Regions from separate parts of the Homo sapiens genome. Here region 2 is linked to region 1. The links are contacts of gene promoters, found by promoter capture Hi-C in blood cells and fetal thymus (Javierre and others, 2016). All regions are on one chromosome and are shown on one strand. The core of a region is centred on a gene start or on the middle of the fragment in contact, and the rest is flanking DNA. Distances in the headings are between cores, read along the strand shown. Region 1 holds the start of SYT10 (synaptotagmin 10). Region 2 has its middle 77 kb from the start of PKP2.

The links. The method cuts DNA at HindIII sites, captures the fragments that hold promoters and counts their contacts. A CHiCAGO score of 5 or more calls a contact.
Region 2: a fragment that was not itself captured here is called in contact with the fragment with the promoter of SYT10 in region 1 in 1 of 17 cell types (endothelial precursors); the score reaches 6.4 in endothelial precursors.

The regions. Positions count from the first base shown.
Region 1 is chr12:33,437,342-33,442,464 of GRCh38, forward strand. It overlaps SYT10 (synaptotagmin 10), which reads right to left and starts at 2,478. Exons shown (of 7, transcript NM_198992.4): 1 at 2,031-2,478. The coding sequence starts at 2,181. RefSeq lists an enhancer at 1,389-2,205. The HindIII fragment of the contact is 7,804 bases long and covers 406-5,123 here.
Region 2 is chr12:32,971,254-32,976,376 of GRCh38, forward strand. No RefSeq gene overlaps it. Among named protein-coding and RNA genes, the nearest start is that of PKP2, 77 kb to the left of the region's middle. The HindIII fragment of the contact is 765 bases long and covers 1,886-2,650 here.

The DNA.
Region 1 (5,123 bases), core at 1,228-3,727:
TTTTCTCACTTTTTATTCCCAAGGGGAAAAGTTCAAAAGGAATTCAGACTACAACTACTTCTTGCAGTGATTAGGAAAAACTGAGAACTATTTCTATAATTCATATACTATAGTTTATCTGAAGCTGATACAGTTGTGCATTTTGGACAGATTTCAGAGCTGGGATTTGGTTTCTAACTTCCACATATTTTCCTCATTACCAGCCAGTCTGAGACCCGGGAAACCACTATTTGGTGTGTGATCACAAAAGGGCAGGAAAGAGGAAAATCAGTAGTTTTATTTACAGCATCAACTGTTCAATTACCAAAGCACAATCTTCAAACTTAAATACTCTCATTTCGTCCAGTGTAGCCCCTTCTCTGAGTGTTACCTTTAGCAAGTGGGTCACTAAAGACGTTTCAGAAAAGCTTATCTAATATCACCACAGAGGACTCTGAGGTCACACTATTCTGGTCTTTACCTCATACTTAGCAACGATACGCACGACACAGAATACAACATGCTCACACAGTGCCTTCCACTGAGTTTCATACACTCCTAGGAATTTAACACCTACTGAACGAATGGAAATGATTCTCAGTTGTGTTTATACACTGAGAAAATTTTAAAGTTTCCCTATCCAGGGTCCAAGCAGCGGCATATCTTCAAGCTCTGCCAAGTGCAGACAGAGCCCCCTTGGCTCACGTTGCCGTGGATCAGAGAATACCAAACCCTGCAGCTACCCATGTGAACGATGGAATGTAAAAGCTAAACTAAACCCATTCCCACTCCCCGCTTGGCTTTGACGCAGGGGTGGTGGTGGAGAGGATTCACTAAGTGTGCCCCGCTTTGCTCCCTCCCAGCACGCAGGGCTCCATGTTGTCCTGAGCTTGGCTGTCCAGCTCTTGTTGCCCTGACTACCTTCAACTCTTAAAATCCCGCCAGGAGATCAAAATGACAGGAAAAGCAAAGGGAAAGAACCTAGAGAAGGAATGGCAACCTTCCAGTCGAAAATCCCCAAAGCAGTGTTTTTTGACTCCTAGTGCAACAAGTGACCCTCTCAAGCGGCTCTTGAAACCACGCAGCCCGCAACTCGGGGATCCACCTCGCGTGCGCCCGAGGAGCACAGCAGGCTGGACACACCAACCTTTTCCCCAACCGTGACCCAAACAGTGGCTTGGATTCGATCCTTTCCACCCCCAAGCCTTGAGGAAAATCCACTTGAGACTTTTTTCCATCTCCAGATTTCCGACGGTCGATATCCTCCTGCATCCAGCCCATTTCCTAGTTTCCTGAAGGGTAGGGAGGACGTCTGTGAGTTGGATGTCTGAGAGCGTGCGTGTGCTAGGGATTTTAAACGTCTCCCCTCTCTTCCACTTCTTCGATATGTGCTCTGAGCTTTAGGTGTCGCCTCACAAATGGGATCAATAATCCTTGTTTTACCAACTTTGTCATGAAACCCTAGAAAATCATATATATTAAAAGGGCTTTAGAAATTGTCAGGTGCCCGACAGGTTGCAGCCGCGGGTTACCTCGGAGGCCAAGGCAGCCACCTCTGCAAGGGAGTTCTGCGTCCAAGCATGGCTTGTCCGTCCCGCCTGGCCCCCATCAACAAGGCCGGGACCAGCGGCCGGTGGAACGAGCGAGAGCAGCCCTAGTCCCACAGGTGAGCCGCCCCCACAAGCAGCCAAGCCGCGAGCCGTCCCGGCGCCGTCACCGCCCGCACTCACTTCTCCACTCCGGGAGGGAGATGGGAGGCGTGGGAGAACGCGGAGAGGCGCGGCGAGGCTGGGAGCGGGAGACGGCGCCGGGAGGCGGGAAGCGGACCAGAGAATGGGAGAAGCCCGGCAGGTGGACAGGAGGAAACAAAACCCAAACGCCCCACCCTCGAAGTCGTCAGGAGCTGAGCGAAGGAAGGAGCGAGGTAGGAAAGCGTGGCGCCCCAAATATGCCGCGGGAGCGGCGCGGGAGGCGCAGAACCCCGGAGCTTGCAGCCTAGCGCGCGGGGTCCCAGCGGAGCGCGAGGACGCGAGCGGAGCCCTCCCGGTTACCTGTGCTGCTTCCGCCCTGGCTGCCCCTGTCCCGAGGGAAGATGCCCGAGCACTTCTCCCACTCCACCTGGCCGGCGAAGCACAGCTCGGTGACGATGTGCAGAGCCTTCTGGCACAGACTGTTCACTCCGTCCTCCTTGTGGAAACTCATCGTTTGGCTTTTCTTTCGTTTTCTCTTTTTTTCCCAGTTAGCCGTCTTTTCCTCTTCCCGTACCTCTAACCCCTCTGGCGCCCTAAGCCATAGTCCGCCCGCGGTGACTTTGGCTGGAGATTGCGCCGCTGAGAGCCGGCAACTCTTAGGAGCCCCACGTTGGCCCCATGGCGGGAGCGGAGGGCGTAGGGGAAGGAGAGGCGCGCGAGGAGGCTGCGGCTGCCGCGAGGTTTGCGCCAACTCTCCCGCCGCGCGAGCGAGCCGAGGCGCGCTGGAACTAGAGACCCGGCATGGAGTGCTGAGGGGAGGGGGGAGCCGTAAAAAAGCCAAAGCAAGCCCTCGACTCGCAAGCACGCCCCCCTCCTCTCCCCAGCGCACTGGTGTTTCTGGCGGGTGCCTGGCGGCGACGCGTCCAATCGCAGCCCGGCGCGGGCGCTAGGTGACAGGCGGCGGAGCGCGCAGACCCGGCTCCCCGCGTCCTCTGAAGAAGGGACTCGCGAGGGAGGGAGGGAGGGAGGGCGGGCGGCCCGGCGCCCCTGCCGAGGCCGGGGATGCTCATCGTTGCCCAGAGTTGGCCCGAGGAGCCCTCTCCGTTTTCCCAATACTTTTCCCTGCATCAGTGCAGCCATCCCCGCCGCCTTTGTCTCTCCAACTTTTCCACGGATGTATTCTACTTTCTGTGCTATCTGCTTCTGCCCTTCTGGAAAAGTCATCCCAATCGAAGAAAAACTGAAAAAGTTAATTAGAAAAAAGAATGCGTGAATAAGCAAACCCTCTTAGGTAGATCACAAAATAAAATGTTATTTGTACTAATAATCAGATAAGATTCTGTCGATTAATCCGTAATTGGCGATTGAGAATGCACAACTTGACTCCCTCCATCTCCTTTCTTAGCGACTTAAAACAAGACATGGGTGTTAAAGGGAACAGGATTAAGTTCAAATCTGTCACACATCTCAGCCTAACCTTGAAGTTGTTTTCAGGTCTTGGCGATCCTCCTACTTCAGCCTCCCTAGTAGCTAGGACTCCAGGGACTCCAGGCGCTATTTTTTTTTTTTAAACTTATTGTAAAGACAAGGATCTCACTATGGTGCCCTGGCTGGTCTCGAACTCCTGGGCTCAATCAATCCTACCGCCTTAGCTTCCCAAAATGCTGGCACTAGCCACCACGGCCGGCCTGCTTTCGGGTCTTTGCCTGAGTCTGTAAAATGGGAGATTTGGACTCGGATGTCTTAAGCTCACCTGTTTTTATAATTCTTTAATGCAAATGGGTGCAAATCAGTAGAACTAAAGCGACAAAATAATAAACATGGGCTTCAGGATATAATATGTTTATATGGTTTTTAAACTGTTTTCGGGCAGAGTTTGATCCCATATCATAACCTGAGGATTGATTTAACCCTCTTGTGATGAGGGATTCTTTATTTTTGAAGTGGGATACATTGAACTTGTTAGCGTGTCTATGCTAGTAGAATAAGTAGTCTTTTTTAAAAACAGCTAATCAGTTCATGGTAAATTATTTGCTTTGCACAGGACTATGGTAAACCTAGTATAAATATTAGGCATAGCACTCCAGTAGGGAAGCATTCATTAGTTGAATCATTTTGACCTGATCCATAGGACGATTGGTTTAACTAGGACTATTTTTACCACGAATTAAGACAAACTAAAATCTGCAGGCTTCATTTGGTTTTTGTCTTTATGCACACTGACTTGGGTGGTTTTTAAGTCAAATTGTCTAAAGAAATAATTTCACTGTCAATCAAAAAATATTAAACATCTACTGTATGCACAAAACTAAATAACACACTTTAATAAGGCCCTTTCCAATTGCCTTTTGCCCCCCATTCTGCTACAGTCTACACAGACAGACCGGTAGAAAACAGCCTGCAATGCAATGCTGTACTTTCATATTTACCATATGAACTAATTGCTGTGTAGGAGGACCAAATGAGTAATTATCTTTATACTACTTACAGATTCTAATTGCTTAAGTGGAGTAATGCAGAAGGTCTCCCTAATGACCCTCTTGTGTTTGATTTCAGTGTTAAACATTAGGTAAACAAATTCTGAAAATAACTTTCCTGGTATTTGTTTATGCTGTTCCTGGCCTGTTGCTACTCTTACTGCTGTGTTTTCACAACAAGCAGAGTTAATTTCACTTGGATATTCGTTTTTCTGAATTCATTTCTCTGAAAAAAATTTTCTTTCATCTAAAATGAATATCACAGGTTTTGATTTTTTTCTTTGTTCTTTGGACCATCTCGCAGCTCATTAGCAGGTGAATCAAAACAGTTTTGTTTGTCACTAACTAAAAGCTCAGGTAAGAATTTTGGGCAAAGTAAAAACTGCATTGAAGGTCATCTTTTTCAATGCTGAAGGATAAGATGACAAGAATTTCAATTTTCAGTCTTTAAATTTTTTTTCCAACTATTTCAGCTACCAAGAACCTAAAAAGTAAATCAAGCAATACAGATTTGCATTTACTTCCCCACTCACACTCTGAAGGAATTGGTGAAATAGTAAAAGGAGAGGAGTGCAGGTTAGACTGATATTTACTGAGCATTGTTGGCTGTGCTGAGTACTATAGTAGCCATTGTTAGTCAAAAAAATACTAGCTGTAATGATCTCTGTCACAGCTTCCTTCTGGATGACCTCTACGTTATGTAGAGGAGGGATTGGTTTGGAAATAAGGAGCCCAGGAAAAACCCGTGTGAACTAAGCATACCTGTTAAGTGACAATTTTAAACATTCAAAACTCTGATTTCCCTACTTGCTCAATCCTCTTTCAATTCCTTCTTGCCCTTTCTCGTTCATATCGTGGGGGAGGGAGAGTTAGCTTGTTAGGCAGAGATCTCTCTACGGTAAGGGGAACTTGGGAATCACTCTAACACTATAATTTTAAATATTATTTGACCTCCAAAACAGGAACTAAGAGAGTA
Region 2 (5,123 bases), core at 1,018-3,517, 470 kb before region 1:
CATGTTCCAGGGACTAACATGAGGGAATCTGGAAATTATGTCATATGAGGAATAGGAGGAAAGGGAAACATTAATTCTGGGAAGAGAAGCTTAAAAGAAGAGAAGAGGATATAGATGTGTAACCTCCATGACAGTTATAGTTCAAATAGAGGTTGAGTTATGTGGAGGAAAGTTGTGCTTTGGCTGAGAGGGTGAATTAGATAATTTCTAATTTTTTTTTTCCATTTTAATGATTCTATTACTCTGTGCCAAAAAATTATTTAGTGATCCACTTTGGAATGAACATCCTTTTATCTGCTTTGATCTTGGAGGTTCATTTACTGACCCACCTACCCATTCCTGCTCTCCTACTCAATTAAGATGGATTAAAACTAGAATAATTTCATTTGCAATGAAAGCTATTAGTCTGAGCAGATTGTCTCCATGATAATCTAATTGCATAGGTGCAAATGACTTTGCATAAATGAGCATTTGACAGACCGTTTCTTTTCTTTTTTTTCCCTGAGACAGAGTCTTGCTCTGTTGCCCAGGCTGGAGTACAGTGGTGCATTCTTGGCTCACTGCAACCTCTGCCTCCCGGGTTCAAACAATTCTCGTGCTTCAGCCTCCTGAATAGCTGGGATTATAGGCCTATGCCACCACGCCCAGCTAATTTTTCTATTTTTAGTAGAGATGGGGTTTTGTCATGTTGCGCAGGCTGGTCTCCAATTCCTGGCCTTAAGTGATCCATCTGCCTCAGCCTTTTCAAGTGTTGGGATTATAGGCATGAGCCACCGCGGCTGGCCTGACAGACCATTTCCTATCATTTTTTGTGCAGAGTATAAACAGTAGCATTTTAGATGAAACTTCAGTATTAGGTTTTTAACTTTGATTATATTCTTCTTAGCAAGGAAAGGGCAAGTTGTAATTTTACCTTCTAGAGAAATATAAGTAAGAAAGCACGGTCAGTAAAGTATCATTTATCTATTTAAAATAAGCATACTTCTTTATTTAGTTCAGTGACAAAATGATAGATGATATATATGTACATCAGGTACTGAGATAATAAAAAGCTCCAAGAAGCTGAAGTATTACATACTTAAGTAATGGTATTTCATGGGATTAAGCCCTTTCCAAAATTAACATCTCCTTTCATCTACATTTATTTCCAAGCTATCTCCTCTGATAGCTTACTGTATTTTTTTTTTTTTTTGAGACAAGGTCTTGCTCTGTTGTCCAGGTTGGAGTCCAATAGTGCAAATGACAGCTCTCTGCATCCTCAAGTTCCTAAGCTCAAGTAGTCCTCCCACTTCAGCCTTGGGAGTAGCTAGTACCTTAGGCGTGTGCCACCTTTTTTTGTTTTTGTTGTAGTTGTAGTGACAGGATCTTACCATGTTGCCCAGGCTGGTCTTAAACCTCTGGGCTCAAGTGATCCTCCTGCCTTGGCATCCCAAAGTGCTGGGATTACAGGCATGAGCTGCTGCACCCAGCCCTGTTTCTTATTATACCTAAATATTTAAAATAATTTACTTTTCTCATATTACATAAAGTAATTAAAGTATTTAATAAATCCTGAAAATTTCCCTTAGAAAGGCAAAAACCATTCATATTGAATAATGAAAACCTTAATTACTTATGAACACTATAACTCACTTATAAGTACTATTTTTAATGGAGCGCTGATCTTATGATTTATCATCCTTCAGGCTATTGCTAATGTTTATCTCTATGTAGAATTGCAAAACTGTGAAAGACCATAAAGAGCTGAGTGTAAACTCATTACCCCTGCTTCAAAAACCATTCATTTATTCAAAAGGTATTTGTGAGGTACCCACTTTGTGCTAGACACTGTGCTTGGTGATGGCCTGAATTGTGAACAAAGTGGACAAAGTTACTCTCATCATGAAGCTTGGGGGATAGATGATAAAAAGTTAACACATAAGTGAATAAATAATGGAATTCCAGGCATTGATAAGTGTTGTAAAAATAATGTAGGAAAGTGATAGGTCAAAGGTAATCTAATTTAGAGAAGTAGAAAGATCTTTAGACGAGGTCCCATTTCAGCAAAGACCTGAATTAGATGAGCTAAGGAAAAGTAAAAAGATCTGAGAGAGGGATGTGGTGGCCACATTCTGAGATGACACCAGTGGTCCTTGCCTCCTGGTATTTACATCCCTATGGAATTCCCTTCCACACTGCATCAGGATTAGTTTGTGTGACTGGCAGAATACAGTGGAAGTTGTGGTGTCCACATTCTGAGGTTAGGACATAAAGAACATTGCCATTTCCCCTTTGATCTCCTGGGACATTGTCTGGGGGAAGCGAGCTGCCAAATCATGAGGACACTCAAGCAATTCTATGGAGGTGATGGAACTGAGGCCTCCTGCCAACAGCCAGTACCAACTTGCCACCTGTGTGAGTGAGGCATCTTGGAGGCTCCCCAGTCAAGCCTTCAGATGATGGCTGCCCTGGGTGCATCTTTCTGCAACCTCATCAAAGATCCTAAGCCAGAGCACCCAGCTAATCCCCTCCCGAAATTCTGACCAAAGGGAACTTGGGGATAATAAAAGTTTATTTTTTAAATAATGAAGTTTTGGGATATGTTGTTATGCAGAAATACGTAACTAATAAAAGGAGAAATCTCAAGAGTAAAATATTTCAGAGAAGAACAAGCTTGGCATGTCTGAGGCATGACAAAAAAAGGCAGAGTGGCTGGATATTTGTTGGGAGGGTGAGAGTGGCTGGAGATTTCTATTCATGACCCGCTTTGTTAAATAATAGAGGATAACCAAAAGTTCATAAGTACTCAGCACATACTGTATGTTCACAGTTCTTTAATTTATCTTCTTGGCTTTTATAATTTATAGTAAATCGTGTATTTAAAAAAATCTTCATTAGAAATCTATGTACAGGATCGGATGAGGTGGCTCACGCCTGTAATCCTAGCACCTTGGGAGGCCAAGGCAGGCAGATCACTTGAGGTCAGGAGTTCAAGACCAGCTTGGCCAACATAGTGAAACCTTGTCTCTACTAAAAATTAAAAAATTAGCTGAGCAAGGTGGCGGGTGCCTGTAATCCCATCTATTGGGAAGGCTGAAGCAGAAGAAATGCTTGAACCCAGGAGGCGGAGATTGCAGTGAGCCAAGATTGTGCCACTGCGCTCCAGCCTGCGTGACAGAGTGAGACTCCGTCTCAAAAAAAGAAACCTATGTACAATGTAAAATATTGTATTTTAGCTGTGGTCAGGTTACTGAACTTTTCAGCAGACACGTAATACATTTTTTCTAAAACAGGATGCTTTGGATAGATTAGCCATCCTAAAGCATGACAAAGCAACTTAAATCCTCCAAGGATTAATATTATATTGAGTGAAAAATAGATATTTAAAAGAAGGCCATGTAGTAATATTTGGTTACCACTAATGATCAGACACAGATGGAGTCTTTGAGGATAAAATAAAAACACAGCAAATGATTTTTTTTTTTTTTTTTGAGATGGAGTTTCGTTCTTGTTGCCCAGGCTGGAGTGCAATGGCACGGTCTCGGCTCACCACAACCTCCGCCTCCCTGGTTCAAGCAATTCTCCTGCCTCAGCCTCCCGAGTAGCTGGGATTACAGGCACACACCACCATGGCTTGTATTTTTAGTAGAGATGGGGTTTCTCCATGTTGGCCAGGCTGGTCTCGAACTCCTGACCTCAGGTGATCTGCCCGCCTCAGCCTCCCAAAGTGCTGGGATTTATAGGTGTGAGCCACTGTGCCTGGCCTGATTTTTTATGAAAAAGGGAATCTTTGTGCTTTTTGATTCATAATTAAGCCAAATTTTCTTGTAGAAAATAGGTCATTGTTAAAATAGAGTTTTGGATCAAGCCAATGTCTGTGGGAGATAAGAATAATTAGAAAATTAATTTTCATATATTAGGGTTTTGTTTATATCTAATAATCCATCATTTATTACCCAGGGAGTAAAAACAACTCCTCAAAGCAGTATTTTTCCGGCTTTTCTTACATCTCTATGGGAACACTAATCCTGCTTTAAATGTTTCACAAAGAATCTTGGGCGTTTCCTCTAGAAGTTGTTGCTCAGGTTCTCCATGAATTAGCCCTTTGATTACCACCAGTTCCATTTTCCTACTCTGGCTCAGATGGAGATCCTCTTGTGAACCCAGTAAGCAGCTCTTTGCTGATGCTTGCTGATTGCTCCGCTGGTGATATTACTGATGATCCATGAAGCTTATTCCAAGGAATACAATGTTCAGAATTGAGACTGCTGATGTTTGCTCCAGGATTAATGAATAATATCAAATATCCTTGTTAAGATGCCACCTCTTCTGTTGAGAGCCACCAATGTCTCCACCAAGTTTGCTATCCGATGTCAAGAATCCTATGTTTGTACAGAAGGCGTTATCTCTTGTTGCTGTTGCAGTCCCAGCATCCAATGTAGCTAGAACCTTTTATTACTGATGTCTAGATGGAAATTTAGTGAAAAGTGTCTTTTGAGCATTTCTAGATTTGTAATTACAATTACCTCAATCTAGTAGTCAGTCATAGGTCCATGGAAAGCTGGCCTGGATGATAATTTGAGTGATCAACTCATCAACACTCAGAATCATTGTCTCTAAGCAAAATATTGTGCCTTGAGTCTCTTTTGTCTTATGAACAATTTTTTTGGAGGTGTCTCCAAAACCTCATATAAACAGACTCGTTGCTAATCTATCTTGCAGCTTTCTTTTATTCCTTATGTTGATAACAGGTAGTCAGACATCTTCAGCAAGATTGATCCCCCTTCTTTTGTACTTTTCTCATGTACTTCATTACCAAATCCTATGTGCATTCTCCCAAAAAATTTCTTTTCTATACAGCCCTGCTTTTCCAATTCTACTGCACTGCCTAGTTTAGGACTTCATCATATTCACAGACACCGGCAGTTTCAAAGTGTGGTCTGCAGATCTCATGGTGCCCAAAACACTTACAGGGAGTACCAAACCTATTTTTACAATAATATGAAAAAAAATGTCTTTTTCACTCTGTTGACATTTGTACTAATGATGCAAAGCAATGGTGCATAAAAATGCTGATCCTGAGCGCAAATTAAGAGAATGCTACCAAACTGTATGTGAGCAGCTATTTGATTTGATTTGATTTT